Linked DNA regions of Homo sapiens: region 1 is linked to region 2. Evidence: promoter capture Hi-C in 16 types of primary human blood cells and fetal thymus (Javierre and others, 2016). All regions are on one chromosome and are shown on one strand. The core of a region is centred on a gene start or on the middle of the fragment in contact, and the rest is flanking DNA. Distances in the headings are between cores, read along the strand shown.

Region 1 (6,442 bases), core at 2,322-4,821, 79 kb after region 2:
TAGCTTCTATCATTTTCTTAATTTTCTTTAACTTGTTTCATAATATTTGAAATGTTTTGTGGGCATTCCTTTTGGACACGCTTTCATCGTTTTGTAGGAATTTTTTCTGCTCTTTCTTTTCATTTTTTCCTTCTTAACTTTTTATAAGTTTTTACCACAATGCTTTTCTGTTGTTTATTTTCTAAATGAAATGAATTTTCCTATACTTTTAGGAGTGAAGGGTATGCTGGGGCAACCTTTCCAGTTCAAAGGCTCTAGAGCTCCCTCTCCTGTTCCTTTCGCAAGGAAATAAAACAAAAATCTCCAAAGGTTTTGAGAGCTGCCTCTTCTGCTCTGCCCACCCCCATCCCATTTATCTGGATCTTTTTTCCTTGCCTGTATTGATCTGCCCAGATACTCATCAGTGCAAGGCTTTGTATTGGAAGAGACTCTGTTCACTTTGAGGGCATATGGAGCTCAAATCACCCCGACACCATCAGACCTTATTGTATCACAGTCCTCTTGCACTTAGCCATGCATTGGGTTTTCAGATAGCTCTCCTGGTTTTGGTTGCTGTACTCAGATGGTCTTGCTGTGCCCTCTGGTGAATACCTGCAGGTGATTGTGTGATTCTCAAGCTCTCAGTATCTTCAGAACCACAGTTTTTATCACGTGTCTTCTTCCGGCACTAATGCTGCCACCACACAGTTCTTGAACTGTAAATGCTTTGCCCAGACCTGTTAGTATTTGGTGTCTGGGAGGATTACCTCACTACCAGCTCTGTTGTGGATACTGTCCATGGCTCTTTTCGCTTTGCTATTCTAGTTGCTCTTTCTATTTTACAGGGAGATTTGGGAAGATTCTAAGACTACCTAGCCATTTCTTTTCCCCTTTTTAATTCTTCTTGGTACTCAGTGCTACAGTTTGAGTGTTTGCCTCCCTCCTTAAATTCATGTTGAAACCTAATCCCCACTGCCATAGTATTAGGCGATGGGGCCTTTAAGAGGTGGTTTATGTCATGAGGGCTCCACCTTCATGGATGGGATTAGTGTTCTTATAAAAGGGTTTGAGGGAGTCTGTTAGTTCCTTTTTGCCCTTCTACTGTCTGAGGACACAGGAAAAGGTGCCCTCTGTGGAGCAGAGATGGAGGCTTCACCAGACACAAAATCTGCTGGCACCTTGATCTTAAACTTTCCAGCCTCCAGAACTGTGAGACATAAATTTCTATTATTTATAAATTACCTAGTCTAAGATATTTTGTTAGAGCAGCCCGAATGGACTAAGACACCCAGTGATCAGTGCAGATTGGTTAGAAGTTTAACTCAATGAAATATTCCAACTTGGGAACAGGTTTTTCTCACAGGACCTGGGAGCCATGACCCTTCCTTCATTTGGTGCCCTTGAGAAGGTAGCTAAGGCAAGAAAAAGTAGACAGAAGGACTGCCAAGGGTCAGCTGTTGGGTGGGGCATGGCTCTTAGAACCTGCCTCAAGGCCAAGTTGTTGAGTCCTGCCTCTGACACCTCCCTTCTCCTTTGCTGGTCAGGCTCTCAAAAGGAGACAAATAATCACACAGGAAGAGAAAAGAAAACAGCGCTAAAAACAAAAGTTCCCTCTCTCACCTTATACAAAAATCAACTCAAGATGGATCTAAGACCTGAAACTAAAAATTCTGGAAGATAACATTGGAAAAACTCTTCTAGACATTGGCTTAGGCAAGGATTTCATGACCAAGAACCCCAAAGAAAATGCAATAAAACAAAAATAAATAGCTGGGATTTAATTAAACTACAGAGCTTTTGCACAGCAAAACAGTCAGCAGAGTAAACAGACAACCCACAGAGTGGGAGAAAATCTTCATAATCTATACGTCTGACAAAGGACTAATATCCAGAATCTACAACCAACTCAAACATGTTAGCAAGAAACAAACAAACAAATAATCCCATCAAAAAGTGGGCTAAAGACATGAATAGACAATTCTTAGAAGATATACAAATGGCCAACAAACATATGAAAAAATGCTCAACATCAGTAAGGATCAGGGAAATGCAAATCAAAACCACAAGGCAACACTACCTTACTCCTGCAAGAATGGCCATAATCAAAAAAACAAAAAATAATAGATGTTGGCGTGGATGCGGTGAAAAGGGAACACTTCTACACTGCTGGTGGGAATGTAAACTAGTACAACCACTATGGAAAACAGTGTGGAGTTTTCTTAAAGAACTAAAAGTAGATCTACCATTTGACCCAGTAAGCCCACTACTGGATATCTACCCAGAGAAAAAGAAGTCATTATACAAAAAAAGATACTTGCACACGCATGTTTATGGCTGCACAATTCACAATTGCAAAATCATGGAACCAACCCAAATGCCCACCAATCAATGACTGGATAAAGAAACTGTGACATATATGATGGAAAACTAGTTAGGCATAAAAAGAAATGAATTAATGGCCTTCGCAGCGACCTGGATGCGATTGGAGACTCTTATTCTAAGTAAAATAACTCAGGAATGGAAAAACCAAACATCATATGTTCTCACTCATAAGTGGGAACTAAGCTGTGAGGATGCAAAGGCATAAGAATGACACAATGGACTTTGGGGACTCAAGGGGAAAGGGTGGGAAGGGGGTGAGGGATAAAATATCACAAATTGGGTACAGTGTACACTGCTCGGGTGACAGGTGCACCAAAATCTCACAAATCACCGCTAAAGAACTTACTCATGTAACCAAACACCACCTGTTCCCCAATAACCTATGGAAATAGAAAAATTAATTTAAAAAATTCTAGGAAACTGCCTGGGAATTCCCCAGCGTAAAACACCCCCAGATTTGCATTTGACTCCAGCTTTGTATTATTGGTGGGGGAGCCACACAGCTTCCCCCTCACCCCCCAGCCCCTCCCGGGCCTCTGCCTGTGCTCCATTTTCTTGTGCTTCCTGGGTGGTGCAGGGTTGTGATGTCTTGAATACCAAGAGTGAGGCTGAACATATGTGAACCTTTCCTAATCCTGCTAATCTTTCTTCAAAAACCTTTCTCAAAGTGTAGGCAACATCCAGATTGAAAAAAGAGAGTGTGAGCGAGCCTGAGCATTTTAATGACAAATAATCTTTGTCCAAGGGGGACGGGCGGCTACCTCAGCTGGAGATGGAGCTGATGAACTGCAGCAGGTAGAAATAACTGCCGTATTACCTCATGTAATCTGCACCACTCAGGGGCAGACGAGGTCTGAATGCAGGAAGAAATCGACTTGGCTTTTAAACTGGAGACTCTGCATCTGTGACAGCTATTAGGCAGTAATTAGTTGTGACACAGAATTACCAGCCACACAATGGTAATGGGAGCCTTACGAGGTCTTTGAAGCTGATTAGAGAAACTGAATGGATGCTACTTGCGATTAAAAAAGTCTGTCTGGATGTGAGCATGAGTTAAGACTTCACCCTGTCCCCTTCCTCTCTCCTCACCATCCTACAAACAGTGAACTGCTCCAAAGAGTGGCTCCCCACAGCTGGGCAAATATCTCCCCAGGGCTTGTGTTTCTCAAAATGGATCAGGTACCAATGGGTCCTTGGATTTTACCCAACGGAAGAGAGGGGGCTTTGTAGATTCTTTTTGACAGAGTAGAATCATAGAGGTTTCCTAGAGCTACAAAAACAAAAATAAACAAACAAAAAATAACAACCACCACAACAACAAAAAACACACAAAGGAAAGAGATTTGAGGACCAACTGAGACAACCCATCACTCAGGGCTCTAAAACTGAAAATCCAAGTCGTGCCCTGAGAGATATAAGCTCATAGAATAGCTTTGTCATGAGGCAGACATGCAGGGCTGGGGGATTGAAATGCTAGTTTGGGAGAGATGGGTTTGCCGGATACGCAGCCTCTTTCCCTGCAGGCTCCAAGCCCTGGACAAGTGAACCCCAGAGAGCAAAGATGTGGTGCTGTGCCCTGCCCCCTGGGGCATCCTCTAGGTGAGAGCTGACAGCGGAGCAGCTCCTTTGGAAATTTGCAGGTCAAGGTGCTGGAGGAGTCTCCCGGTGAATCGTGTAATGTGTTCATGGCTGTCTTGGACAAGATCTGCCTTCTGCCCCACTGGGTGAGCAATGAAGGATTGCAGGGAAATAGTTAGGGATTTTGAACTTACTGCTTGCTAGAGAAGCCGGACTGGTAAGGAAATTCACTAATTAAACTTTGTGGGTGGTTTTATTTCTCCCATATTTTAAACAAGGCTGCTGTTTTGAATAGCTGTGGATTCATCTTAGGTTTGACATTTGTCATACTGTCTAGCTAAATATATATACAGATAGGTAGCTGGATATAGACATATATCATACGATATCATATGCATGAAACTTCTACCTGTATGTTTATAGATATAGATACATAGATGGGTTGCCTTAAGTAATTAAATATGTTTCTATAATATTGAGCTAACTTCTCCCCATTGTTTAAGCAAAATGGGCCCCCTTTGCACAAGTGATAGACTTTTTTTTTTTTCTTTGAGACAGGGTCTTGCTCTGTTACCCAGGCTGGAGTGCAGTGGCACAACCTTGGCTCACTGCAGCCTTGACCTCCTGGGCTCAAGTGGTCCTCCCACCTCAGTCTCCCGAGTAGCTGGGACTACAGGTGCACATCACCATGCCCGGTGAATTTTTGTATTTTTTGTAGAGACAGGGTCTTGCCATGTTGCCCAGGCTGGTCTCGAATGCCTGGGCTCAAGTGAGCCATCTGCCTCGGCTTCCCAAAGTGCTGGGATTACAGGCGTAAACCACAGTGCCCAGTCAGTATACTTTTTTTCACTTGATAATTTTACTCTTTTCACTTAATGTTACCCCATCCCCATTTTGCAAATGACCTGCTATGTCACCTTAGGAAGATCACACCCCTGGGGGCTTCTGTCTCCTTTTCCTTAAGCAGAGATGATTAACCAGTCCACCTGGAAACATTTTCCCCTGCCAGTTTCAGAGGAAGTGTGGCCCTGCTGACACCTCAATCTCAGACTCTGGCCTCCAGAACTGTGGGATAAGATTTCTGTTGTTCTAAGCCACCTAGTTTCTGGTACTTCATTATTGCAGCCATAGGGGACTAACACAGTATGTATCCCATTCCTAGTTATTGGAAGGATTTAAGATGGTTTGAAACAATACAGCAAGTACAAGACAATTAAAGTTAGAGATAAAGAAATTCAAGGTGAAAGTGAATGGCAAGTCCCAGGATTATAGCATTGTAATTTCATGCACTGAGGGCCCTTCAACTCCATTTCATTCTGATATATAGAAGTGATAGGACAGGAAAAAAACTTAAGGAATGGTACTTAAAATGCATAGTTGATATCAAAATTGGGTAAGTAGCATGTCCTTGGGCAAGAAACAAGAGAAACTCAACATGGAGGTGGGGCTGAATCCACAGGTGTGCTGGCCTCTGGGTCTGGATACAGGAAAGGCAGTTACAACCTCAGCTCCTGTGGGATAAGAAGGACTATAGGTGTCCCAGGTGTGGCAGGTGACCAAGGACAGGCTTGAAACTAAAGACTGAGACTTTAGAATGCTGGAGACTGAAGAATGCTACCAACACCATCTGGGACTATAGCCGCTAGGTAACTGTGCACCCGGGGAGGTGGGAGGAGGCAGAGGGGCCTCATAGCTGTGCCCTAAGCCAAGCTACCAGCAGGAACCTCCATATCCTCATAGCCCCAGCTGCCATGTAACCTCCGGTTCTGGTCTGGGGAACATGAGGAGGTGTGTGTGATGGCAGCAGGGGGTATCACAGAAAGCAAGGAAAGGGGACTCCCCTTTAAGATGACTCTGCAAACTAAGATTTCAAAAGGAATGAAGGAAGCAAATGTTAAGAAAGAACAGCAAGTTTGAAAAAAATCAATCACCTGGAGAATGAATTCCCAGAGAAATGAAAACAACAGCAAAATAGGAAAATGACTTTCTAATAAATGTGGTTTAGGTCCTCCCAGAAATGAAGGATGAGAAATTAGGAAACAAACAGTGGCAGAAATGGAAGAAGTACAGGTGAACATGAACAAAATAAAAAATCCTTGGAATGAAAAATATGGTTATTGAAATACAAGACTGAAGACATAAAATCAAGCTCCATACTTGATGCAGCTGAGAAGGGAATTAGTTAACGATGCTCAAGAATTCACCCAGAATGCATCTCAGAAAGATAAAGAGAATAAAAAATATGCAAGAACAGTTAAGCGACTTAGAAAACTGGTTGAGAGGCTCCAACACACACCTCATAAGTGTTTCAGATGGAGATACGTGGAAAACTCAGGTGAGAACTTTTAGAATTAAAGAAAGACACAGAATTAAAGTAAGTTCCCTGCTACTGTGTATACAATCAATGCTGCACCACGACAAACGAACCTTCACTTAGTCATGATGTAATGAAATGCAAAGATAGAACAGTCTTATGAGATTTTAGAAAGAAGACAAATATAAA
Region 2 (6,852 bases), core at 2,004-4,503:
AAGGAAAGGCATTGAATAAACAGAAGGCCAGAGTTCAAATCTACTTTTTATAAAAGTGGTGACTTTGCTGGTGGCAGAGTCTAGGAAGCATGAGAAATCCTCTTTTGGAATGAGTTGGTGCACAGAGCACCTTCTCCCATGCCCTGTCCTGACTTCTCCTTAAGGAAATAGACACAGCATGGTAGCCGGGCAATGCCATCTCTCCAGCCACCTCCCACCTCCTTCCCCCACCTCCAAAGTGGTGCTCATTTTCTCTAAATGTGTATATGCCTCAGATAAACCAACATGGATAAAATTGAGTAAGTCATCTCTGGGTTTTCTTTAATTTTCCTCAGGTTAAAGGGGACACTACTTCTCTACTACTCCCCTACATTAAACAGTGGTTGGGTTTCATTAATAATTATGCAGTGTTTCATTATTGCAATGTGAGCAGGTCAGCCTTCCAAATTCTTTTTAAGAGCACCAAACAGACAGAAGAGCTTTCTTCACCTCTTAGGTGAAGACAATTCCAACCTGATTTAAATGATAAGGGGTAGGTGGGTGCAGCAGCGGGAAGCTCATGCTTGTGTGGTATTAAGCTTCTGTCCAAGGATATAGAAAAGGTGGATATCCTGGAAGGATGTTGAGCTACAATTTTATGATAAAGGTATTGCTTAACCCATTTTCCAGGGGATGAAGTTGTAGTTAAAAAAGACCTATGCCTGAAGCTTGGCAAAGAATGAATTCCTGGAATTGCCTCTCTCCCTTCTCTATCCCATTCTCTATCCCACCCACCCACTTACCTATAATCCTCATATTTCCCACGAATGCCTGAACTTGAACTACAGTTGCCTGTTCATTGGATTATTTTACAAATCAGGAAGTCACATTTTAAAACCTGGGACCCCGGTCATTTACCTACCTTCACCCCAAGGTTCTAAATCCACTAGGATACAAGGACTTTTTTATTACCAAACAAATCAGACAAAAAATGTAAAAAATCAGACTTTAAATGTTTTATTTTGTTGATTCTGTACACCGTCAGGAAACAAGGTTAGAAGTAAAATAAAGTGCCAGTTAAATTCGGCTACTACCAACAACCAAAACCTTAAACATAGAAAATCAAAGTAAACTGCGGAAAGGTCATAGCATAACCTTGGGTAAAGGAATTTGTTAACGTCTGTAACAAATCGAAACTGACTACGTATGTAGCTCTTCAACTGCAAGACGGCGAGAAGGAAGACCTGCGGGCCGCGCTGGTCAAGGGCCCGGCCCGCTGAGGAACAGCGGAAAGCGCCTTCCCGCCGTCGCCACCGCAGCTGGGATCCGCCGAGCAGCGGGCGGTTCAGGGCTCCCGGTACTCCTGCGTGTTAATGAGAACGTTCATTAGCGCTCTTGACAGGACGGCGACTGTGAGACGCCTGGTTACCTATTTTAGTAAATCGGGAACACTGGATGCAAGGCGGTTGGTTTTCGTTTTTAAGCAAGCTTAAATGTTGGTTACGCTACTTTTGGGGAAAGGGAAACGAAAGGTGAATCTCGAGTTCTAAGTTGCTTTCTAAGAAACCCCCAGGATTTAAGAGCGAAAACTCTCTGCGACAAAACACTGGATACGCGAGTCTTAAATACAGCTCTCCAAACAGCTGGTCTACAAAAGTGGACCCACGTCCCAACCCAGCGCACCCTGCGTTGTCCTCGCCCCTACCCACCGCACCCCGACGCCGACCACCTGTCCGCCGAGGGTCCGTCCGTCTGCCACGTCCCAGACCGTCTGCACCGCCTAACTGGTCTTTTTCTGCCTCTTGAGTTCCGGCAGCCTCCTTTGATAGGACCTGGCCGGCGGGAACAAGGGCGCCCGTGGCCTCTGGCGGAGGAGAAGGAAAAGAACCACCCCTCCGCCCCCGCCACTGCTCGAGCGCAGCCCCTAGTACTGGGAGCCGGCGTGCTCCGCTCCGGGGAGGTAGCGCTCGGGGATGGCCTCTCGCTGCACCCGGGGCGCGCCAACCACGGCAAGGCGCCCTAAGTTCTACATCGGCCCCGCGAAGCGCGCAACTCCAGGGACAAGGAGAGAGATGTGCTGGGTGAGAGCGAGCACTTTCTGCCTAAAGCCGCTGGAACCGACCCAGAACCCCAAACTGCCCCGAGGCGCCATCGAACATCCGCTCTGGTCACTTTAACGTCCCAGGGGTGGGGGCGGGGAAGGGGGTGCCCGACAGTCCCTTCCTCTGGACTGGAAGGTTCGAAATGCTTTCCTTGCTCGGCCTCGCTCTCCCAGACGCAGGGAGCAGGGGCGCGGAGAAGCTGAGCGAAGGGAGGCCGGGCCGAGGTCGCGCCCCAGGCCCAGGCCCGCCCTCACTTGGAGAATTGCGCCTGCACGGCGGCCAGGCCCAGGCTGGCCGGGACCAGGTGCGGGAACTTGCACACGGCGCAGGTGCAGAGGCCGGGGCCGCCTGCGCCGCCGCCGGGGAGAGCGAACTGGCCGCACGGCGGCTCGTCCAGCGCCAGCGACAGGTACTTGGCGGGGCGCAGCGCGTCGGGGGGTCCTACGGCGCCGGGCGCCAGCAGCACGGAGCCGGGCGCGGCGGCGAGCAGGGGCAGCCCGGCCAGCAGCAGGCGCGGCGCGGCGGGCCCGGCGCCCTCGCCCAGCGCGCGGCGCAGCTCCTGCAGCGAGCTGCCCAGCAGTAGGATGTAGTTGCGGGCGAGCAGCAGCGTGGCTATCTTGGAGAGCTTGCGGCCGGGCGCGCCCTGGCAGTGCGCCGCTGAGTAGGGCAGGATGACCTCGCGCAGGGCGTCCATGGCCAGGTTCAGGTCCTGCATGCGCTTCCGCTCGCGGCTGTTGATCTTGCGCCGCAGCTGCTGCTGCTGCTCCTCCTTGGCGTCCGGCCGGGCGCTGCCGCCCGGGTGCGCGCCTGACCCGGGCCCGGGGCCTGGAGGCTCGGCCGGCGCCTCCGGCTTCTCGCGCGCAGCCTTGGGGAGGAGGGGGGCCGTCGTGGAGGAGGAGGAAGTGGAGGAGGTGGAGGAGGTGGAGGAGGAGGAGGAGGAGGGCGGCTGCCTGTAGCCCACCAGCTCGTAGAGGGAGGCCCCGAGCTGCAAGTCTCCGGGCCGCTGTGGCCGCAGCATGGTCCCGGGGACCGCGTTCACGCGCGCCTGGGAAACCGCATAGTACATCTGGGAGGCGGTGGGGGCGGCCGAGGACGCCCTTCAGGAACGCCCTGGGGTGGGCCGGTCGGCAGGCCGCCCCTCCCCGCGGACCTGCGCGCGGGGAAACGATGGTGGGGCCCTGGCCCGCGCCCTACCCCTTTAAACCCGGCTTGGGAACCTGCGGGGCAGCGGGTGGCGGGGCGCAGCCAATGGAGGCGCGAGGCCGGGCGCAGCCGCGTGTTCATTGGCTGCTTGTGCCGGGGCCGCGCGGAGGTGCGGCTGGCACCGCTTTAGGAGGTTATTGTGAGCGCCTGTGCCAGCCGCGCGGGACAGGCCCCCTGAGCGGAGTAAGGGCGCCTTTTCAAGGCAAGCGGGGCTGTTGAAGGAGGACTGGTCGCACTGGTCAGGCTGCAACTCACGTGCCTTCCTCCAGCAACTGTCTACTCAAAAACAACCTCCCTCATATTTTTTTTTAACTGTGATCACATATTCATAACATAAAATTTACCGTCTTATGTTTAGAGTACTGTTCAGTAATGTTATATGCATTAGTGTGCACATTAAATTGATTTAAATTAAATTCACATTGTTGTGCAACCCATCTCCAGAACTCTTTTCAACTTGCAACCCTGAAGCTCCACCCATTAAACAACTCCCCACTCCCCCCGACCCAAGTTCCTGGAATTCACTCTTCTGTTCTGTCTCTATGAATTTGTTCTACTCTAGGTCCCTCATATAAGTAGAATCATACAGCACTTGTCTTTTAGTGACTGGCTTCTTTCACTTAGCATATTGTCGTCAAGGTTTATCCATGTTGTAGCATGTATCAAAGTTTCTTCCTTTTCAAGGCTGAATAATATTCCAGTATATGGATATACCACATTTGGTTTATCCATTCATTCGTTGATGGACATTTGGGGTGCTTTTGGTTGTTGCGAATTATGCTGCTATGAACATGAGTGTATCATGTTTTTTTTTTCTTAAAATACATAATTTCCTGCCAGGTTCAGGTCGCTAAATTTCTGGACTAAATGACAAGTAGCATTAGGATATTTCCTCCCTGCTGCTCCCAACCTCCTTCCCCATCCCTCTGATTGAAAGGTCTTTAGGGACAAAGGAGCCTTTGGGTCGGGTTTCTATCCTCCCCGAAAGGGATGGTCTATCAGCAACTTGACATTTGCTTAAGCAAAAGTCACTCAGAAATTGGCCTCTTATTAGAAACAAAACAAAACACCCACATAGTCCTATCGGTTGAGGGTGGGAATGAATCATTTTATTTGCCAAATAGAATAGCATTACTTGGTGTCTATGGACATTTTCTGCCCCCAGCACCAGTGCATGCTACTATAACTTGTCAATGTCCTGGGGAAGAGGGCATCTTGGTGGCTGTGCTTGCTGGTTTCAGGGCTGCTTTGTTCTGGTTTTCTTCCACCAATATTTGCCACATGGGTTCACTCTGATCTTTGCTTCTGACCCCCAGCTCTGCCTGTAGCATCCTGCCTATGCCTCAGGTTCAGCTCCAACCTTGCTTTCTTCTGGAAGCCTTGGTGATTTCTCCTCTTCCTCCTTTCATGACTCTTGGCAAACCATTGATAGGATTTCTTCATAGCCTATTGTGTTATGTAGATACCATCTCTGCATTTGGCTATGATTGTTTTACGGTAGGGACCACCTGCTCATTTCTCCATCTTCCTGAAGCCTAGCACAGTGCTTGGCACTTACTGTGTGTCCTGGAGGTCTCTAAAGATGGTCTGAAATCTCCCTTAGCTCAGAGGCTCATCCCTTAAATGCACAAACTCCTGGCAATGCTCTAACCCAAGCATTTTCCTAAAGGTTTTATAGAGAGGGAAGGAACCTGGTAAGATCTCCTGCCTCTCAGAGGGGCCTGGCCTGACATGGACGTGGTGCTGGGGGCCCCACTTTGGGAGAGAGAGGGAAGCCTTGGTAGGAAGGAGCTGAGTGCTTAAGCAGAACCATACTAAGCAGGAAGGAGAGAGAGAGACCAAGGGAAGGGTCTTGAATGTTTCAAGCAATTAAGTTTAACACCTCACTAATCATTTCGCCTTCTGTTGAAGCAGCTTGCTTTCAAGTCATTTTTACAGACACTTTCACGTTTGGTTCTCATGGGGCCCCTGTGAGCTGGGCATTTTTGATCCCTTGATGTCCATGATATAACTGAGGCTCCCAGAAGGCAGTAGATTGCTCTGTGCCTTCAGACAGGACAGGCAGAGCGGCCCCACCAAGGACTGGCTTCCTGAATTCCCTCCAGCAGAACCAGGCTTCCAGGAAGCCCAGGAGGGGGCCATGATGGGGCGGGTTGGGGATTGGGTGTAAGGATGGAGGGGCCAGCCTAGACTGTGCCAATATTGATGAGTTGGTGGGTTCCAGCCATGTTCCCCAAGAGAGTGTCCCCAGAATCCTGCCACCATAAACCCTGCTCCAGCCTCTTCGGCAATGCCCACCCTCACTGTCAGGACCCTCTGTCCTGTAGCTGAGGTGCCAGATTGGGGCAGGCCCTGGTGACATCCCCCTCCGGCTTCCTCCCCTGCACACAGCCTAGGTGGGGCCCGTAGGGTCTTACCCTGCCAGCAGAAAGAGGAAGTGAATGGGGAAGATAAAATCTAAAGCCTTGGCCTGTTGCCTAACTTGTACGCTCCCCATTTCCCACCCACAGGAAGGGGCACCCAGGAGTCAAACAGATGGAAACACACACATGCTGCCTTTCCCCTCTAGAAGCACCCCTCTTTCCTGTGGGTGTCCCTGAGGGTTTTCTTTAGACCTAAGTCTCACCTTATCTCCTCCTTGTAAGACTTATCTCTCCCCCAGCCAAGGATACTGTCAACTGGATATGCTGCATATTTCAGTGCCTTGGTAGAGGGCCTCAGAAGAGGGTTCTGGGTGGCCATCCAGCTCCAGCCTGGGCACGGGATTTGGGACTGGTTGGAGCTGGTGACTTGGATGGTCCCTTGTGCTGGGCTGAAGCAGCGGCATGCAAAGTGTGACAGCTGGCAAGGGCCAGCCAGTTACTGTGGCCGCTGGCACGGGCCCCGGGGTCTGTCTCAAGGGGAGGCAGCTGCTGCGGCCTCCCACATTGAGGACATGCTTGGGGAGCAACTTGTGTCCACCATAACAACCGCTCTTTTCTTTGCCTAAAGGGGCTTGTGTGTGTGTGTTGGTGATTCCTTTCACTCTGCAGAGGTGTGTGCCTCAGATTTCCTTTTCCTTGTGTAGAAACCTAGTGTCTCCTGCGCATTCCCCTGTCCCTGCCATCTACTCTTGCTTTGGGTCAAGAAGCTTGGACCTTGGAAATGGCAGACACTGGGGACTCAAAGCCTCAGTGATGTGTGAGTGTGTTTCAGATGTAGCACCATCCTTCTCCTCTGTAAGAACAAAGATGGGGTGTACTGCTGTGAAGCCCCCTGTTGTCCTGCATGAAACCGTCCTCTTGCAGAAGGCCAGCAGAGTGTAAACAGCTGCTAAAATGTGCTGCTTAACTGGCTAGAGCTTAGACCTCTAATGGAATAATGAAGTTCACTTTTTAAAGTGCTACTTACTTCTAAGAAGGTCAATATTCTTTGGAAAGTTTAAATTACCCAGTAGGTGTTGATATTTACACTGTCTCTAGGAGAAGCGGAAGCCTTGTCCGTTGTTTGCCCTATATCAGGTGCCCCCATCCCATCCAAATATAACTCTTCCTGGAACACAAAGGTCAGGGAAGGAGCTGCAAAGCGA

The links. The method cuts DNA at HindIII sites, captures the fragments that hold promoters and counts their contacts. A CHiCAGO score of 5 or more calls a contact.
Region 1: a contact is called between a fragment that was not itself captured here and the fragment with the promoter of OLIG1 in region 2, in 5 of 17 cell types (M1 macrophages, neutrophils, M2 macrophages and 2 more). The highest score is 6.0, in M1 macrophages.

Annotation. Positions count from the first base shown.
Region 1 is chr21:32,988,345-32,994,786 of GRCh38, reverse strand. No RefSeq gene overlaps it. Among named protein-coding and RNA genes, the nearest start is that of LINC01690, 33 kb to the right of the region's middle. The HindIII fragment of the contact is 8,548 bases long and covers 1-6,442 here.
Region 2 is chr21:33,066,542-33,073,393 of GRCh38, reverse strand. It overlaps OLIG1 (oligodendrocyte transcription factor 1), which reads right to left and starts at 3,253. Exons shown (of 1, transcript NM_138983.3): 1 at 981-3,253. The coding sequence starts at 3,147. The coding sequence ends at 2,332. The HindIII fragment of the contact is 4,947 bases long and covers 1,470-6,416 here.